Linked DNA regions of Homo sapiens: all the other regions are linked to region 1. Evidence: promoter capture Hi-C in 16 types of primary human blood cells and fetal thymus (Javierre and others, 2016). All regions are on one chromosome and are shown on one strand. The core of a region is centred on a gene start or on the middle of the fragment in contact, and the rest is flanking DNA. Distances in the headings are between cores, read along the strand shown. Region 1 holds the start of ABHD4 (abhydrolase domain containing 4, N-acyl phospholipase B). Region 2 overlaps SLC7A7 (solute carrier family 7 member 7). Region 3 overlaps TRD-AS1 (TRD antisense RNA 1).

Region 1 (2,938 bases), core at 194-2,693:
ACTGTGACAAGTCAGATCATAACACCTGGATCCCACATTGTCCTGTTACTGTACAAAGCAGAGTTCAGGAGAAACGCTACCCAAGGAACAGCATCATAGACTGCTCAGCAGAGAGTCCTTGGTGGGAGAATTACTTTGCTTTCCTTCTTCACCAAAAATGTTACAAGTAAACACTGGAAATGGTGCCTGGCACACTGTATGTGCTCAAAACTATGCGGGAGGTAAGGGCTGGAGTGGGAAATTGAGGCAAGGAGCAGAAAAGACATTCAGCCATGAACTTAACCTGGCTAGGACGGTCTCTGTCAACTTGATGGGGGTGAAGCACAAGGGGTTCTGTGCTGGGAGAGAATCCTGTTCTAGACCTCTGTGATCTTGGGCAAGTCTCCTAATTTCTATGGACACCAGCTTCTTCATTTTTAAAAAGGAGCTGAACTACCTGCATGTCCTCCAGCTCTAATATTCTGCCTCCCTAAGTCCTTTAAAGCATTGCAAATTTCCTCTTGGAAAAGTCATCTTAGAAAGTAAAACATTCCCCTGGACATTTCTTTCAAGCCCAGCAAGCTATTAATTATGGTCATAAAGTTAATTAGTTCCCCGGACTTCCAGTTCTACAGGTCTGAAAAACAGGATTACTGGGTCCAGGAAAGGCCCAGTTCTGGTGAAACCAAGGCTCGGCTGGGAGCTGAGTCATTCTTCTCGTAGCAACTTTTTCTTACTCCTATCAGATTGCGAACTGCTAGTCACACCACCTACAGGTGGTATCCCAAACCTGATGCCCTTGAAAGAGTGGTAGCAAATCCCAATAGCTCTAAATCTGAAACCATTGCATTAAAGATGTTGTTACGATTATTAAAAGCATTATCAACTAGGATCACATGCGGCTACGTGTCTCGGTGGGCGACAGCTAAAGAAACTTGCAAGCCCGTTGTTCCACACCAATTTCAGCGCGATGGAGACCTCTCCAGTCTCTCCACATCTTCTCTTTGCCGGGCGGAGGGAGGAGGCTCTCTCCATCCCCACGACTGCCGTTCTGGGGGGCAAGTCGAGACGAGCACGCCTGGCTGCTACCTCCGCACCCGCGTCCCACAAGCTTGCTTTCGGGGATCTCACACATCAACATGGAATCTCTCCAGAGGCCAGAGGAGAATGAGGGGCACTCGCGAGGACTAAGGTAGAAAGCCAGGATCCCCGGGCTGCGGGCGAGCGCGTCTCCCATGGCTCCCCAGGCTCAGCCGCTGCCTCTTCTGGGCAAATGCAAAGCAAGCAACGCACCCACCCCCCGCCCTCCCCGGAGGCCGACCTGGAAAAGGAAGAGCGGGAAGGTGTCTACAACTGTTCCTCAGCCACAGACAGTCCCAGGATCATGGCCCAGAGAGAGAGAGAGAAAGAGAGAAAGGGACAGGATTAACTCACTGCTGCTCCAGATCATCGGCCATAGTAAACAAGCCTTGCCAGGTCCTGGCGAGCCCGCCCAGCGCCTGACGCCAGCACCAGCTGACCCGGGAGGCCGCGGGGAGCAAGGGGGCGTGGCCGCGCAGGGGGCAGGGCTCGCGGCGGGCCGGCGGTCGGCGGTGGGACCCTCAAAACTCTGCAACTTGGTTTCAGCTAGTGGGGCCCTTGCTGTGTTTTCAATCACTGGCATGTGTCCCGGCAGAGATGTCTCTGACGGTCTCAGAATGGGACAGTAATCCTGGTCACACATTTGGGGGAGTCCTTGCAGGAGCTCCGACAGCCCTCCCTTCTCTCATAACTAAAAAGTGGTAGAACTACGCCTGCACGCTCGCACCCACTCTTTGGGCTTCCCATTGTAACTGTGTCCTCCTGAAATCGACCCTTGTTAATGTTCCTTCTAGTAAGAGGCTTAAATGTTTGTGGAGACAACGCCATTGGTTGAATGCTCCTACAAAGGGCCTGGATGCCAGATTTCGAAACTAAAATACAGGACACCTAGTTAAATGTAAATTCCAGATTTAAATAAAGCAAATACTTTTTTAGAATAAGTATGGGCCATGCAGTATTTGGGACATAAGTAGGCATCCTGTATTTTCTCTGGCAAACCTAAACCTATATGACATCTGCCAAAATGGGCATATCTCTGCTCTGATGTTGACTCTGACCCCAACCTATTTTCCAGGGAAAATATAGCTCAACTCCAGGTCACCCTCAGTTTGGAGGATAACAGTTGAAGGACTCACCAATAAGGCTAGGTCTCCTTTCGGTATGTAAATGCGGGGACAGGGAGATAAGGCTGGCTTGGCCCAGAGGTCCTGAGTGCACTTCAGTTTGCTCAGCAGAGGAGCTAAATCTTGAGGCTGGCTGCTGAATTTGCTTGTACCGGTAAACAGGGCCTGACCTCCCTGGAACTGTCAGATTTCAGATCATCCCCTTAGTTAAAACCAGACTAGGGGTGGGGCGCGGTGGCTCACGCCTGTAATCCCTGCACCTTGGGAGGCCAAAGTGGGTGGATCACTTGCAGTCAGTAGTTCGAGACCAGTCTGGCCAACATGGTGAAACCCCATCTCTTACTAAAAATACAAAAAATTAGCCAGGTGTGGTAGCAGGCACCTGTAATCCTAGCTACTGGGGAGGCTGCGGCAGGGAGAATTGCTTGAACCCAGGAGGCGGAGGTTGCAGTGAGCCAAAATTGTGACACTGCACTCCAGCCTGAGAGACAGAGTGAGACTCCATCTCAAAAACCAAAAACAAACAAGCAAACAAACAAAAAAAACCAGACTGGGGAGTGGTGGAGGATGGGTGAGAGAATGCTGGTGCACAGGGGTTTATCAAAGCATTTTTCTTTAGCCTTCCTGCAGGACCCAGATGATTCTGAGATTTCTTCTTTGTAGCAACACAGTGTTAAGCTGATCATTATAAAGACTTAACGTTTAGGAGAACCAGCATTTATAGAGTTTAGGGGCTTAGGAATTTGCCAGATGTG
Region 2 (2,948 bases), core at 19-2,518, 200 kb before region 1:
GCAGTCAGACTGCTTATGCAGGCAGCTGAAAGCGTCCAGAATGAGTGTTGTAGCACCCAAAGTGGAAGTTGCATTGCCTTTTATGACCTAGTCTCTGAAGTTGCATGGTGTCAATTCTGTCATACTCTATAGGTAGAGGCATTCACAGAAGACCATCCAGTTTCGAGAAGAGGGGTACAGACCCTGCCTCTTGATGGGTAGAGTGTCAAAGTCACATTGTAAGAAAGGAATATGGGATGGGAGACGTTGAGGCATATTGGAAAACTCCAATCTATTGCACCAACTATATTAAGGAGTTTGGTGGGCTGTCTTCTAAGGCAATGAGAAAACTCTTAAGGCCTTTAAAAGCAGAAGAGTGGCATTTGTGATTTAGATTTTAGAATTTGTGAGTTTAAGAAAGATTAGTTTTTCTATGTAGGATTGAAAGCTGGGAGACAGGTGGGAAGCTGCTGCTATGATCCTAGTGAGAAATGATGGTGGCTTGGACTAGAGTCATGTTTTGGGGACAGGGAGACTTAAGACTTGGACTATGAGTAGATATGAGTGGAAGTTGTTGATGACAATAACATGCCCAGGTCTTTGGCTTGCATAAATGGGTGGATGGTGACGCCAGTTACTTGTATGGGGAACACCGAAGGTGCAGTAGGTTTGGGAGAAATTGATGGAATCAGTTTTGGACATGTTGAGTTTGATGTGCCTGGTAATGTCCAGTAGGTGGTTGAATATTCATATATATCTAGAATCATGACAGTTGGGCTGATGATATACTTTTGGGAGTCATCATTGTATATATGGTTATTGAAACCATAGGAACAGGCCAGGGCGGTGGCTCACACCTGTAATCCCAACACTTTGGGAGGCTGAGGTGGGCTGATCACTTGAGGCCAGGAGTTCGAGACCAGCCTGGCCAACATGGCGAAACCCTGTCTCTACTAAAAATACAAAAACTAGCCGGGCATGGTGGTGTGCACCTGTAGTCCCAGCTACTCTGGAGGCTGAGGCAGGAGAATCGCTTGAACCCTGGAGGAAGAGGTTGCAGTGAGCCGAGACAGCTCCACTGCACTCCATCTTGGGTGACAGAGCAAGATTCTGTCTCAAAAAAAAAAAAAAAAAAAAAAAAGAAAGAAAAAAATAAAAAGAAAAAGAAACCACAGGAACAGATGAGATGACCTTGGGACAAGATGTAGAAAGGGAGGACAAAGGGGCTTAGAAGCATTCTGAGGAATACCCACATTTGAGGGATAGGTATTTTGTGAAAAGATGGAGAAGGAGCATCTAGAGAGATAGGTGGAAACCTGGAAGATGGTGAGTGGAAGGGAGTGAATTGAGAAGGAATGAATGACTACCTGTGTCCAATCTGCTAAGAGGTCAAGCTAGGTAAAGATTGAGTATAGTTGATTGGATTTATTGATATGAAGGTCACTGGTGGCTTTTCATGTGGGCTTTCTCCTAAGGCAATGAAATTTCAGGGCAGTGAGGGTGAAATCAGGTTTCAGAAATATCATTTATTCACCCAGCAAAATGTATTAAGTGTTACTGTGTGTCTAGTTCAGGACTATGCCCATGGGTACAAGGATAACTGTTATCCACTCTCTGCCCTCACACAGCTCTCGTGGGTGGGAGAGACATATGTACACTGTTCTAATGCAGTGTAGTTAATTGGGGAGGTGAGAGCACAGAGCAAGGGCAGCATACCAGAGGTGGCAGGTTTACACTCAAAAATAGCCTTTCTGGAGGAGCTATTAAGTTTAAAATAAGGAATAAAATGTCATTTGGAATTGGCAACTCAGAGGGTCAAAGGAAAACTTTTGCAGGGTGAAAGAGGAAGGAGTTGCAACATCTCAGACTGCATTGTAGAGACCCAGGAACGGGAAGGAATGTAGACATGCTCTTCAGATGAATGATTCTGAAAGCATGGAGGGTGATTGTTAGAGGAAAGGACCAAGGTTGAGGGACGATTTTATGAAAAAGAGTTAAGCCTGCCTTAGGTTGGTTGAGGTATGTTTCTGGAAAAGTTGGATGAAATATCTCTACCCTACAATGATGCCTTCTCCATGGCTGTAATGATTGGGTGCCCTGAGTCAGACTTCTTTTTCTTGAACAGTGTAGGGGATACCCTTATCCCTTTGGAAGGCACTGGTGCATGGTGGTGAACAGCGTGGAATCAGGCAGGATTCAATCAATGCTAGGTCAAATTTATTAGCCTCAGTTTCCTCTTGTTCTCCTTCTCCTTCTCCTTTTCCTCCTTCTCCTTCTTCTTCTTCTTTTTTTTTGACAGAGTTTCACTCTTGTTGCCCAGTCTGGAGTGCAGTGGCGTAATCTCAGTTTACTGCAACCTCCGCCTCCTGGGTTCAAGCGATTCTCCTGCCTCAGCCTCCCGAGTAGCTGGGATTACAGGTGCCCACCACTATGCCCGGCTAATTTTTTGTATTTTTAGTAGAGATGGGGTTTCACCATGTTGGCCAGGCTAGTCTGAAACTCCTGACCTCAGGTGATCTACCTTCCTCGGCCTCTCAAATTGCTGGGATTACAGGCATGAGCCACCGTGCCCAGCCCTCAGTTCTCTCTTCTATAAAATGGGGTCCCTACCTCATAGAAATGTGATCTATATTTGTACCATATTTTCATCTTTTTCTATTCAAATCATGACAGTTTCCAAAGAGCAAACACAGAGTCTCTGCTCCTGCCAGTTGTTTGCAGTCTTTTGGCAGGCATAGTCTACCTTTAGAGCTGTTGAACTACAGCCCTAGATAGTCTGGTATTACTAATAGACCTTGAAATCATTTACTGGTTATTGCTTAAGTAGGTTTTTTTATACGGGTGGTTGACTTCATTCATTGCTGATTTCATTGTCAGGGTAATAACGTTTTGCCCTCTCTGTCAGGAATATTGCTTCCCCTCCCCCACCCCAGCAGCAGCCTCCATGCACTCAGTCCAGATAACAGTGA
Region 3 (3,052 bases), core at 374-2,873, 210 kb after region 1:
AGGAGGTTTGATGTTCATAACTGCTGTGAGTCATTTTCACATGGAGCTGCGGGGAGCTGCCTGTACTGCTGCATGCTGTATAGCCCTTTGTGAGCGCAGCTGAGCTGAACCAATCCCCTATTATGGGTGAGAGTAGATTCCTCCTGGGAGACCTGGATTGGGTCCACACCCCTGTGCAGAATAAAATAGGACTTCTTATTGAGAAGTAGTTATTAAAACATCCCTCAGTCTTGGCTATGCACCTACACTGCCCACAGGGACAGCTCTGCATGGTCCTTCCACAAGAGTGTGGCCACCTCCAGGCCCTGCTGTTAGTGCCAATAACATCTGAAGCCTCACTGTTTGCCTCACTCCGAGGACAAAGGACATCAACAAGACTCCAACCACCACCCCATTGCTTCTCAATTGGAGAAGGAAATTCTGCTTGCTCCTGTTGAGTTTGGCTGTTGCTGGAAAAAGTGTCCCATACAACTCTCTTTGAGGGCTGGCAGAGGACTGGGAAATTAGCCACAAGACTGTGAGCTGGAATGGGCCTTAGTCATCATCTGGTTCTAGTCCCTCAAATTACAGATGATAAGTGAGGCACAGAGAGGTTAAGCAAGTTGTCTAAAGTCACACAGACAAGTGAGGATTTCTAGCGCAGGAAGTAATTTTCTAAGAGGGGGAGAGAAATCCTGGTAGGGTGAATCTTGCTACTACATTTTCACTGGAGGATGCTTCAGAGGGTTGAATCTGTGGGAAAGCAATGGGGACCAGGAGAGCTGCAGCTGATCTCAGTTTTATACCTCAGTTTCTCTGTACGAAAAATGGCTGTATTATTTATCTTCATTTCAGGACTGTTAAGGGGCTTCATGAGTGACTCTGAGAAGTCCTGAGAGTTCTGGGCTTTCAGGTTAATAAGATAACAGTTTCTTGTTGGGCCTGAGACAAGGACTAGTTGCCTGGACTGAATAATCTGTTCTCTGTTCCTCAGCTACCCTGAAGGCCTTATGAAGCCCCTGGGTTTGGGAGTGTGGAAGAATTAAATAAAGGAATAGTCAGACTGAGTGGTGGGGTTGGAGAAAAGTGTGAGAAGTGGGGAAGTGGGCGCAATCCCTGCCTGCTCTGGACCTGGGAACACTCTCCCAAGAAAAAGTGTGTCTTCCGAGTGAGGCTGTTTCCTGCAGTCGGCAGGACTGGACTCCCTCCTTTTGTTTGGGGCAGCATGGAAACCGTGTTTCCCTATCTATGTGCACCTGAATGCACTCTAGTTATGCTGTATCTTTTCAATTTTGCTGGAGAAGCAAGTGTGGTTTGCTCTTTAAAATTCCCAGAGCTCCCTTTCCCATTTGGGATTTGTGGTGAAAGGTCAGACCGCAGAATTGTCTCGCGGTAATGGGGCTTCTGAATAAATGAGCCCCCGAGGGCTGCCAGGGGGACCAGAGAGCAGCAGACGCCTGCTGGGACTAAGCCCGGCAGCAGAAGCCACAGTGTCCCCCTGGCCACGGAAAAGTGGCCCCAGTGGGCTGCTCCTCATTTTCTGGCAATGTGCCCCATCCCCTGGCATGGTGAAGTCCCACGAGCCCAGAGGCCCACGTCCCGACATCAGTCTTCTCAACTGCTTTCTTCTGTTATTACCTTGTCAACAACAGTATCCGGAGACCTAAAGGATAACTCTGCATGATGATGCAGTGAATGACTGGTTAGGTGCCTCCTGTTTAATAACCAGAGAAATATTGCTGTGCGGCATCTCTCCATATGCTGTGGCATCTGCGTCTGGCATGTAAGGGACTAATTTTCTTCACATATCTCATTAAAGATGTAAAGCAAAATGGAGGGGCTTCCAGCCTAACTCTTGCCCAGCCCGCCTGCAACTCACGTTTCTTACCATCTGCTGCCATCTAGTGGCCACTTGTCTCTTTTCTGCATCTGTTGATTTTATAACGGGGCTGAAGTTTTGGCCCTTGTGAAACAGAGGTAAGACAGTTACATAAAAACCGTAATCCTGGATCTCCTCAGATTCCTCGTGGCAACTGAGGGTTGATTCTCACCCCGTGACATCCACCTAGGCCACCGTGATATTGCCTTCTGGGGCTCGAGAGCCTTCTCCGCTGTGGAGAGATATGCTCTGTGGACTTTCTTACAAATCTGTCCGCATTCCCAACTCTAAAACTGACTCATAAAAACCTGATACACTGGGCAGTTCTTTCCAAAAGGCAAGGTGAATCCTCTGATCTTGGGGCAGACAGAGTCCCACACTCCGTGCTGAAATCCCCCCGATTCTTGAGGAATCCCCAGAGGTTGGGACAGAAAAGGCACCCAGAGGAAGGGAATTCCATGGGTCTTTTCCAACAGCCCACCTGCGCATCTCCACACAAAGTCCTTGTGAGAGGAAGCCCACTTCCATCGCAATTCAGGACTCACTTTTCCGAGGCTGATCTTGTCTGACATTTGCTCCGTGGTCTGTGCTGGCATCAGAGTGTGTTTTCGGCCGTGATTCGTCAGCGTGGGGCTTGGGATAGCTGTGAAACACTCCCCAGGATGGAAAACACAGTGTGACATGGAGGGCTGAACTTATTGCAACTCGTGAGAACGGTGAATGAAGAGCAGACAGGGCCCGTGCCAGCTGCAGGGTTTAGGCACGGGGTGCAGGTGCCTATGCATCACCGTGGGCTCCTCACACGAGAGGATGGGGCCCGCACCTCTGGGCTACGTGCTAGACACAGAGTGATGTTGCTTTTTGTCATCAAACCAAGCAGTTGATATTCTCTTTAAACCTCAGCATGTGTTCATAAATTTCATTAATTGATTCATTCTTCCATATGTACTCAGCTCTAGGATATGCAGTGAAGTAAACACAAAAAACAAGAGTATGACAGTCTCGACCCTTGAGGATCTTATTATTAGAGATGGAAGTAAAAAAGAAGCATAGCAGTCAAGGCTGTATTAATTCTCCATATAAAAAATGTCTAACATACGAAGTAGGGATTCAGAGAAGGGTCACTAGCAGTTACAACAGCTGAAGACTGTATCATGGAAGTAAATATTATAATTCAAACTGCCAAAGGAATTG

The links. The method cuts DNA at HindIII sites, captures the fragments that hold promoters and counts their contacts. A CHiCAGO score of 5 or more calls a contact.
Region 2: a fragment that was not itself captured here is called in contact with the fragment with the promoter of ABHD4 in region 1 in 2 of 17 cell types (naive B cells and total B cells); the score reaches 5.9 in naive B cells.
Region 3: a fragment that was not itself captured here is called in contact with the fragment with the promoter of ABHD4 in region 1 in 3 of 17 cell types (total B cells, naive B cells and endothelial precursors); the score reaches 6.5 in total B cells.

The regions. Positions count from the first base shown.
Region 1 is chr14:22,596,805-22,599,742 of GRCh38, reverse strand. It overlaps ABHD4 (abhydrolase domain containing 4, N-acyl phospholipase B), which reads right to left and starts at 1,443. Exons shown (of 7, transcript NM_022060.3): 1 at 1,414-1,443. The coding sequence starts at 1,436. RefSeq lists an enhancer at 1,209-1,448 and a silencer at 1,559-1,758. The HindIII fragment of the contact is 5,320 bases long and covers 1,093-2,938 here.
Region 2 is chr14:22,797,621-22,800,568 of GRCh38, reverse strand. The region is part of intron 2 of SLC7A7 (solute carrier family 7 member 7); the gene reads left to right. Among named protein-coding and RNA genes, the nearest start is that of SLC7A7, 16 kb to the left of the region's middle. The HindIII fragment of the contact is 3,739 bases long and covers 1-2,948 here.
Region 3 is chr14:22,386,424-22,389,475 of GRCh38, reverse strand. The region is part of intron 2 of TRD-AS1 (TRD antisense RNA 1); the gene reads left to right. It also overlaps TRA. Among named protein-coding and RNA genes, the nearest start is that of TRD-AS1, 95 kb to the left of the region's middle. RefSeq lists enhancers at 966-1,466, 1,575-1,804. The HindIII fragment of the contact is 4,572 bases long and covers 1-3,052 here.